Regions from separate parts of the Homo sapiens genome. Here all the other regions are linked to region 3. The links are contacts of gene promoters, found by promoter capture Hi-C in blood cells and fetal thymus (Javierre and others, 2016). All regions are on one chromosome and are shown on one strand. Each heading gives the region's core, a stretch centred on a gene start or on the middle of the fragment in contact. The rest is flanking DNA. Distances are from core to core; before and after follow the strand shown. Region 1 overlaps KIFAP3 (kinesin associated protein 3). Region 2 overlaps KIFAP3 (kinesin associated protein 3). Region 3 holds the start of FMO2 (flavin containing dimethylaniline monoxygenase 2).

Region 1 (3,153 bases), core at 224-2,723, 1.2 Mb before region 3:
AAATAATACAATTAGAATAAAGATTGTGTATGTCACTGAAGTCAGCATTGTTTCTACTCCTTTCCAGCAGTTTCATTTAAAACTCTACTGGACTGTTCATGTCCCCAAAACAAATTCTTTTGAGCAGTTGCACTTGTTTAAGAATTATGTGTGTGTGTGTGTGTGTGTGTGTGTGTGTGTGTGTGTGTGTTTAAAGACAACAAAAACTGAAGAAAACAATGTTTACTTCATGAAGAAACTTTCTGTGGACTTGCAAGGTTAGAATTTTGGGCAGATTTAAAGTTGCAAAGAAACGAAGAAGCAAACTATAGAAAAGGCCCTCAGATAAAGTCTAAAATTCTGTTTTCATCTTCATCTTTTTTTCACATGCAAACTATTATGTTACAATTTAAGTAGACATAGGTCTATTTGAAAACAATTCTAAGAGTATAAGCTACATTTTGAAAGTTCAACATTCTAACATTATACCTAATACCTTCTGAAAAGGCCCTGTGAGTGCTGCACCTCTTTCCTTTAAAATGTTCAAACCACTCCTCTTACCCTCCTCTTGTATTGGGGTAACTAACAACAGGCATTTCCCCAAAAGTGGATCCTCTTTTTATCAGGAGATCTGACTTTACTGTCCCCAATTCAGAAACAGTCTTCTGAGTTCTCAATACACTTTTGGTTATTGCTTTTATGGTAGTTGTCTAAATCAATAAATATTACATATTTTTTCTTTATCTCAACATTTTGATTTTTATGAGGATGAGAATAATTTTTTCTGTGAAATTAGATGGCTAAACAGTAACTGTGACTTCAATCTTCTGGGAAAATATAAGCTGATTTCCTTTTTTGATTTATTTTATAAAATTTCATATTTCCATATATAAATTTGACCTAATATAAATATACAATAAAATATATTTATCAATGACTATCACCCAAGATGGCCCCCTGAGGGTGAATTTCTTGACAAAGAAGTTGCTAACTTCCAGTTGCCAACCACAAAAACAAAGCAGTAGAAAAGATAAGAGGTGTAAGTAAAAAATATATTTAACCTGTATTAACTGAATCAGGTAATTAATGCCTCAATTGAGAGGTTTCATTGTAACAAAAAAGAAAATAAATATGATTCTTTATGTACTTTACTATGAGGATGCACATATTAATGTATAAAATTCAGCTTGCTTAAATGTGATTTTGAAATTCTATTGATTTATTCAACATATTCATAGTATTTCCTTTATGTTTGTAAGGACCCATTTGATAAGATGGTATAGTGTGTGTTAACAACAATGTTATTTTTACTCTAAGAAGAGCTCTTATAAAGTGAAACTTCAATTTTTTGAAATCCTTGAAATTCCCTTAAATTTCCTTAAGTACTGTGGTGTCTTCTCTATAATGAAAACTGAAAAATAATGTTATGACTCATTAAATAAACTCAGTAAGTACAAACTTATGTTGAAACTAAACATACAAAATAACTAAAGAAATAACAAACCATTTTATTTTATTTGAGGAGAAAAAAGAAAAAAAGGCTTGGTCTTTAAAAAGGATTAAAATAAACTCAATTTATGGAGTCTTGGAATCTTCACGGCAGTGCAGACGGACTTCCACTTGCCCTCCCCTGGCCCACCTCCTGCACACCTTCTCCTCTTAGTTTATTCACATTTTAAATCTTTCTTCCAAGTTTGGCCTGCAACCACTTGACTGGATAAAGTAGGTCACTTGAAAAGGAAGAAAGCCCAATAAAATGAATTGCAAAGAAAACAAGATTAAACTGATTGTGCTGTTTTCATACATTGTAGCTGAAATTCTGCAAATATGCAGTTGGCTGTGGTTTGGCATTCAACAGAATGTGATCAGTAAGGAGGAAATTTTATTCTCATTAACTGCTGCAGATTTACTGCAGTGAAAAAGGGCTATGTAACCCAAGATGTGACAGTACAGAAAGATCAAAGCCATGGACTGGAAACTAAATAAACCCTCTGGCTACTTCCTGCAAGGAAAATTCACTTTGGCAATGTAGAACAGAGCCCAGTTAAAAACTACTCTCAGTTTTATGAGCTGTCATAGCAGTTCAAGTGGTTTGGACTGGCTGAGTTTATAACATTATATTTCCTTGTTTTTGTCTTAGATACTTCCGTAAGCAGTTTTAAAGACGCCCCCCCCCACCCCTTTAAAAAACACAACAACAAAAAACTAATTTCTTTTGATTGAAACCAAGAAGGTAACCACTAAACTTATTAACGCAGGTAGGTCTTCATTTGCAGATTCCTTTCTCATTTAATACAGCTTAATATTTTATTCTTAGATTTATTTGGTAATATAAATTTACTTAATAATTCATCTACAATCTGTATAATTCCTATTCAGAATAAGTGCAAATCAGTTTACAGAGCCCATATGGCTCATATCTGAGGAGTAAGCTATTTGTAATAGCACATCTGTAAAGACTATGGGCAATATGGAGATTATGGGAATTAATATTACATTTAAAATTACATTTGAAAACCTGTAGGCCCTAGGTTTTAGCTGTTTCTTAAAAAACAAATATCTTAGAAAAAATATCTAATATTTCTAATATAAGAAATCTAACAACTGTTCATAAATAGTTAAATTACATTGTTAAATCAATCAAGACAACAATAGGCTAGATTAAATCTACCTTAAATTAGAAAATATCCCTGAGTTAAGGAGTAAGCTCAATATCATTACACTCATATTTAAAGGAAATAAAAGATGACATGCTCTATTTCTCTCCCTTATTTTTTTAAGGGGGAATAGTGATGCTTATTAACCAATTATATACAATTTTGTTATTCTCATTATAATATGAAGGAGCAAGCCTTTATGACGGTAATTTGCATTATATTACCTTAAAAATCATTTTTGTTTTTTACAATAAGAGCATTTCTAGGTCAAATATGTCATAAGAACCGTCATCCTTGCTTAAAGACTTTCTTTCTTTCCATTTAAATTTACAACTAATTTCTATCTGTAAAGCCAACAAAAATGCAATACATGTGAAAAGTATATGACGTTTAACACTAGATAATCACTCTTAAATGGTGATGATATAATTAACTTGCCAGACACAACTGGATTGGCTTCTGTGTCATTTTTTCTAGTACAAAGCTGTACCATAATTGACATGTTAACATTTTTAAA
Region 2 (2,924 bases), core at 250-2,749, 1.3 Mb before region 3:
GCCTATGTCATTGACTAAGTCACTTAACCTCTCCTGGCCAGTTTTTTTGACTGCAAAAATTAGAGTTGGACAGGGTTGCTTCTAAGGCCTTTTCCAGCTTTAATATTTTATGGTTAAAATAGAAACTAAGACAAATAAATGTATGTTTTCAGAAAGATCAAAGGCATAAACATACCTCAGATTTACATCTCCTAAGGGGCATCATATACTTCCTTACACATAGCAGGTAGTCAGGAAAATATCTGTTGATTACATTTAAATTTTTTATGTGATTGGTTTCTTAAATAAGTAGATGGAATGAGTTATTTCAAAGGCCTTTTCCAAATGTTATCTTCTGCTTAAAATGTAATTTAAGCCACATAAATAGTGTAGTTAGATCAATGAGATTTTAAATTCAAGAACAGAAGTCTTATCTTTGATCTATGTATTCCCTTTGAAGCTTCATATTTTCTCCCATAGCAGGTGATCATGGAACTATCTCTGATTATAGTTATTATTATGGTTATTTCTTTGCTCAGCTTTTCAAGTAGAATTGAACATTTTTTTAATATGAAAACACTGAACTATTTTCAAAACCCATTATGAATTATATAATGTCTCTCCATTTCTTGCTATCTAAATGTACGTTATAAGAACAAGTGAACAATTGGGAACTGGGTACCCAAGTGAGTGAAATATTCTGTTCCTTAGTTTTCCTTAATGCGACTTTTAATTAGCTTTCCCATGCTTTAGATACTAAATTTATGAAGAATAAAAGTTAAAAGCCAAATGCTAATCTTGTATCACTGCTTGTCTTGTATACTACTTGTCCTAGGATTTCTATATTACAACTAGGAAGATATGAATTAAAACCACCAAAGAGACTATAACCATAAATAACTTATGACATATGTTCCATTATTAATTGAAAACTCATAGTTAATAAACTTTGGGAAGGAAACTTTCAGGCACATGGCATGGAATATGAAGGTGATGTTCTTTTTATAAATTTTAAAGGTAGCATATATTATACAAATTACTCAAGAGTTTACAAGCAGAAAAAAAGGAGAAAAAATAAAATTCACGCGCACCCTATATTAACATGTAATTCGTAGTGAAATGTGTGAAATATAAACACATGACTTTCACTTATTCATTTTCACTTTACGCTTTTTAATTGAAATTAAATTAGTCACTTAACATACATAATGCAGTGTTTGTTTTCCAGTCTAGTAGCTTTTCAGCATTCAGTTTTGTGGCTCATGGGAAATGTTACTTAGCATCAAGATGTGGTTTGATGAGTGAACAATGTCAGTATCAACTGTACTTAACAGAAGACAGAGGGGCTGGGGTTAATCTGCAGCTAACAACATATAAAAATAAAAACAAACACAGACCCACAATAACATCAACATGCATTATTAGGCAAAGATCCAAAATTAACCCAACCCACACAGATTTCTTCTAAGCTGAGATTACACATGGAAACAGATACTTTATCAAGATCCATAGCCATAGTAGTAAGGTTCATCAGGGCGGAATCCATATGCTGTGGCAGGGCGTCCAAGAATGCCAACTGGTTGGCCAAAGCCATCCATTCCAAGGCTAAAAAAGAAAAAAAAGAATGATAAGCTATGTTTTTCATCACACATCCACAATGCAGATTAAGAGGCCTACATTTTTATACCACCAAGATTCTCTTCCTAGCAGGGATAGTGATTTAGGTGGATATCATTAACTTTTTTTTTTAAGGTTAATAGAGCCATTAAAAGTGTATATAATAAAATACTTCTAACAATGTGTGTTAAAAGTATGGGAAACCTCTGTCAGTAGGTACTATTTGAAACAAAGTGGAAGAATCAAATCAGAAAAGTTTTATTTAATAAATTACTTATATATGGCTCTTAAGCAAAAATATGAAAAGATTTTACATGCTAGCAATGATCAGTAATATATTGCTAGGGAATGATAAAAATAAAACTGTAGTAAAGTGAGTTTTGCTGTTTATAATGTCTTTTCATATGAAGATACAGGACTAATTCCACTTTTAGTAAAAACATGTGTTTGAGTTATATCAGTGAACTCTCATGCAGGGCCAAATCATACCATAAGCCTATGATTAAAAGAACAAGATAAGGAATTTGACAAAATTTGAAAATTAGTCAGATTTGATCTGCAAATCCTTCCTCTGATTCCTCAATGCAAACAATTACAAAACATATCTATTTCTTTTGAGTGACAGCAAGACAATTACAAATTTTGGTTCAACTTATTCTATGGGAATAACAGAAACCCAAAGATAACCTTCAGAGTTGTAAAGATAGCTTGAAGTATGTTAAACTTCATGATTATTATTTTAAAAAAATTACTTGTTGGTCTATTAATACATTATTTAGAGGAAAATCTGTTCTCCAAAGTCCTTTTTAAAGGTCAGGGAATTATCCAACACTTAGGAAAATGATAAAGTATTTATTTTGCCAGGCAGAACATGGTGGCCTTAACATGCTCATGCATAGCTCATGCAGTGAATGCTAGTGAGCTTGACTTCCAATCAATGGACACCATTTGTAATGCAGAAATGTAAGCTTTGGAAAAATAAAACATATTTAAATGATTTAAGATTTAAGTTTGCACTACATGAGATGGAAAGATAATTTTCCCTCAATAGCAAAAACTGAATGTGATGAAAAAATATATTCACATAGGCACTAACTCCCTGTCACACTCAGAGTGAGATTAAGTTGACACACTTTAGAAGTAACTATTAAAATGTTAAGGTTTTAAATAAATGTGTGAATGCGTGTGTGTGTTTGTGTGCACGCGTGCTTGTGTGTATTAAGATGGAACTAAAGAGTAAATGTAAAGAGCCAAAATACATATAACACATACTGGTCCAGTGACTCTGCCCTTTAGGAGAATGGAAGTTCTGAAATACAAGTTTCAGG
Region 3 (2,997 bases), core at 490-2,989:
TTTTTTTAAAATTTTTCTTTTGTATCCTTTTATTTTATTTACTTATTTTTTAGAGACACGGTCTCGCTCTGTTACCCAGGCTGGCGTACAATGGCACAATCATAGCCCACTGCAGTCTCGACCTCCAGGGCCTCAAGCAATCCTCCCACCTCAGCCTTCCAAGTAGCTGAGACTACAAGTGCATGCTGCCATGCCTGACTGATTTTTTGTTTTTTGCAGAGATGAAGTCTCACTATGTTGCCCAGTCTGACCTTGAACTCCTAGCAATACCCTACCCTGGCCTCCCAAACTGCTGGGATTACAGGCATGAGCCACTGTGCCTGGCCTTTTTTCATTTTAACTGAGAAATGTGTTCAGCTCTTTTGTTCCTTAGTCATTGATCATCACTTTTGTTATATCTGTTAGTCTTGTCATAGAGTTGCTGCACTTATTACACAGAGAAGGCCTTTTATCACGACCAATTTATTTTAGGAAATTTCAGGGAAAACGTTTTTCTAGAACACCTTATTTGACATTATAAAACAACTCTTCACTCTTGCACTCCAGACCTCCCTTTCCAGTTTTCTTTTTCTCCATAGTGGTCATCACCACTTGTTTTATTTTATTGATGGGCTGTCTGGCTCCCTCAACTACAAAGTAAACTCCACAAAGGCAGAGAGTTTTGCCTCTTTTATTCATTGCTGTACCTGCATCACTTAGAAAGTTTCTGGCACCTAGGAAGTGTTCAGTAAATATTTATTGAATAAGTTTATGTAAAACGTCTCAGACTCCTTAGAGAAACTGGTCTTTTGGGGTTGGAGAATAAAGTTCTTTACCTCATCAGTTAGACTCTATCTAAGGTACACGAGGGCTTGCTAGTCTCCTAAGTTAGTCTGCTAATAAATGTTAACCCTAATAACTGAAATTATTAGCAGAGGTAATTATCCAGTTCTATATCAAGGCAAAAAGACAGCAGTGGATAGAAAGATCTTAGAAGTCCCACTAGGTTCATCCAAGCCACCATACACATAGGCAGAAAAATCAAAATAAGATATGAGCCTGGACAGGGTGAGCAATCTGGGAAAAGATGAACACAGTATGCTAGGACCCAGAAATCATCAAGTCTATGAAAACTAAGCCAGAACACAAATGTGAATTCCATAAGATCAGGAACATAATCTGTCTTGTTCATCCAGGCATGGTAATCTGCCAGAAATAGTGCTTAACTGCAAGAACTGAATATTTGTTAGATAATTAAACCATCAACTAAATGAGATTCATGCAACCATGAAAAATGCTGCTATAGGTACACAATATTGATATACTAGAAAGTTAAAAAATCAAGTTGGAAATTAGACTATTCCATTTCTGTTTGTGTGTATGTATCTACAAATAGGTGGAAGGATATACCAAAATGTCAACAGCAGTTACCTCTGGGTGGTGAGGAGTAATCTTAACCTTGTTATTTATCCCTATATGTTCATTTGTGAATGAATATTTATTACATCATTATAAAAAGGATTTTTAAACTATCTGTATGTTTAAGAGTATATGTTGCTACTATGTAAGAGTATATGCTGTTACTGTAAAGACATTGCATTACTACTGTTGACCTCAGAGCACGAGCCTCTTGCCTAATTCTAGGACTCCTAACTAAGTCTTTGGAGTTTCAGCTGGAAGAATGCTGGAGGAATACGGAACTCCTCCCATTTCTCACAGCCACCTCCAACTCTTAAAAACGCTTCCAACTGCCTCCCAGCACACAACCAAGGGAGAAAACTATTCTGTCAAAGAGACGGTGCCAAAAGGCAAAAACAAAGGTAAGGATGATCGCTGGGGAAAGAAGCTGAAAAGGAAAAGCTCAGAACTCTAGCTGGAAATTTGGCTCACATCCCTAGTATGTTACTGCATAGTCTGGCTTTGTTCAATGGGTCGCTTTTAAATATTAAAGCTAGATGTAAGCAAGGTTTGCAACAAAGTCCATAAGAAACTCAGCTTTTCTCAAAGGCAAGAAGAGAGCAGGATTTTTGACTGGCTCTTTATTCAATAGTGCTGCTTATTAAATTACCACTGCTACAATGTTTAAAGCCAATTACCTGAGCACATCATAAGGATTCTCTTACCGGTTGTCCCAGTTAAGTAATGTTGATTGATCAACTCCTTGACAGGAGCTGATGGCAAAGAAGGTAGCTGTGATTGGAGCTGGGGTCAGTGGCCTAATTTCTCTGAAGTGCTGTGTGGATGAGGGACTTGAGCCCACTTGCTTTGAGAGAACTGAAGATATTGGAGGAGTGTGGAGGTTCAAAGTAAGTGAGATTTTCTTGGGTCTTGAACAGGTTGTGTTGTTATTTCAGGGTGAATCACAGTTACTGATGGGTCATATTGAGAAATTTATTAAACAACTCTGATCAGATTTTATTTCTACTTATTGATGTGGCCATAATGGAACTGAAGTCATAGGCTGGCATCTCTCCCCCAGTCAATACTAACCCAACCCAGGTAGCTGACCCAGGCATGTAAAAGATCTCTTCTTTTGGATTCAGCAATTGTCTTACAGCCCATACTTCTGTCATTCTTTAATACGCTAATATTAGAGAACATTTTACAAAAATAGAAGTAACAGGGATTCTTCTCAAGATATCACTTCTGTTTCAATTATTAAACCAAATGCTTCTTTAGAGACCATGCTCTTATCATTACTATTTTTCTCTGACAAATGAAGCATGTTTGTTTACTGAGCTTTATCAATGACATTCTAGTATAACTGCTGTGAAACTCTTTGTTAAATATGTTTTATTAAATTTATTCTATTAATCAAACCAAAATATTGATAATGCTATTTGTCTGTATTAGTCCATTCTCATGCTGCTATGAAGAAATACTGAGACTGGGTGATTTATAAAGGAAAGAGGTTTAATTGACTCCCAGTTCCACAATGCTGGGGAGGACTCAGAAAATTTACAATCATGGCAGTGGGAAAGAGAGGTGCTGAGCAAAGGGGGAAAAGCCCCTTATAAA

What was found. Contacts are between HindIII fragments. The CHiCAGO score rates a contact against its expected background, and 5 or more counts as called.
Region 1: a fragment that was not itself captured here is called in contact with the fragment with the promoter of FMO2 in region 3 in 1 of 17 cell types (M1 macrophages); the score reaches 5.0 in M1 macrophages.
Region 2: a contact is called between a fragment that was not itself captured here and the fragment with the promoter of FMO2 in region 3, in 7 of 17 cell types (M2 macrophages, naive CD8 T cells, M1 macrophages and 4 more). The highest score is 10.9, in M2 macrophages.

What each region holds. Positions count from the first base shown.
Region 1 is chr1:169,940,765-169,943,917 of GRCh38, forward strand. The region is part of intron 19 of KIFAP3 (kinesin associated protein 3); the gene reads right to left. Among named protein-coding and RNA genes, the nearest start is that of SCYL3, 48 kb to the left of the region's middle. RefSeq lists an enhancer at 491-3,153. The HindIII fragment of the contact is 5,755 bases long and covers 1-3,153 here.
Region 2 is chr1:169,920,198-169,923,121 of GRCh38, forward strand. It overlaps KIFAP3 (kinesin associated protein 3), which reads right to left. Exons shown (of 20, transcript NM_014970.4): 20 at 1,132-1,584. The coding sequence ends at 1,479. Among named protein-coding and RNA genes, the nearest start is that of SCYL3, 28 kb to the left of the region's middle. The HindIII fragment of the contact is 2,125 bases long and covers 438-2,562 here.
Region 3 is chr1:171,183,561-171,186,557 of GRCh38, forward strand. It overlaps FMO2 (flavin containing dimethylaniline monoxygenase 2), which reads left to right and starts at 1,740. Exons shown (of 9, transcript NM_001460.5): 1 at 1,740-1,799; 2 at 2,148-2,285. The coding sequence starts at 2,154. The region is part of intron 2 of FMO1-AS1 (FMO1 antisense RNA 1); the gene reads right to left. The HindIII fragment of the contact is 15,337 bases long and covers 1-2,997 here.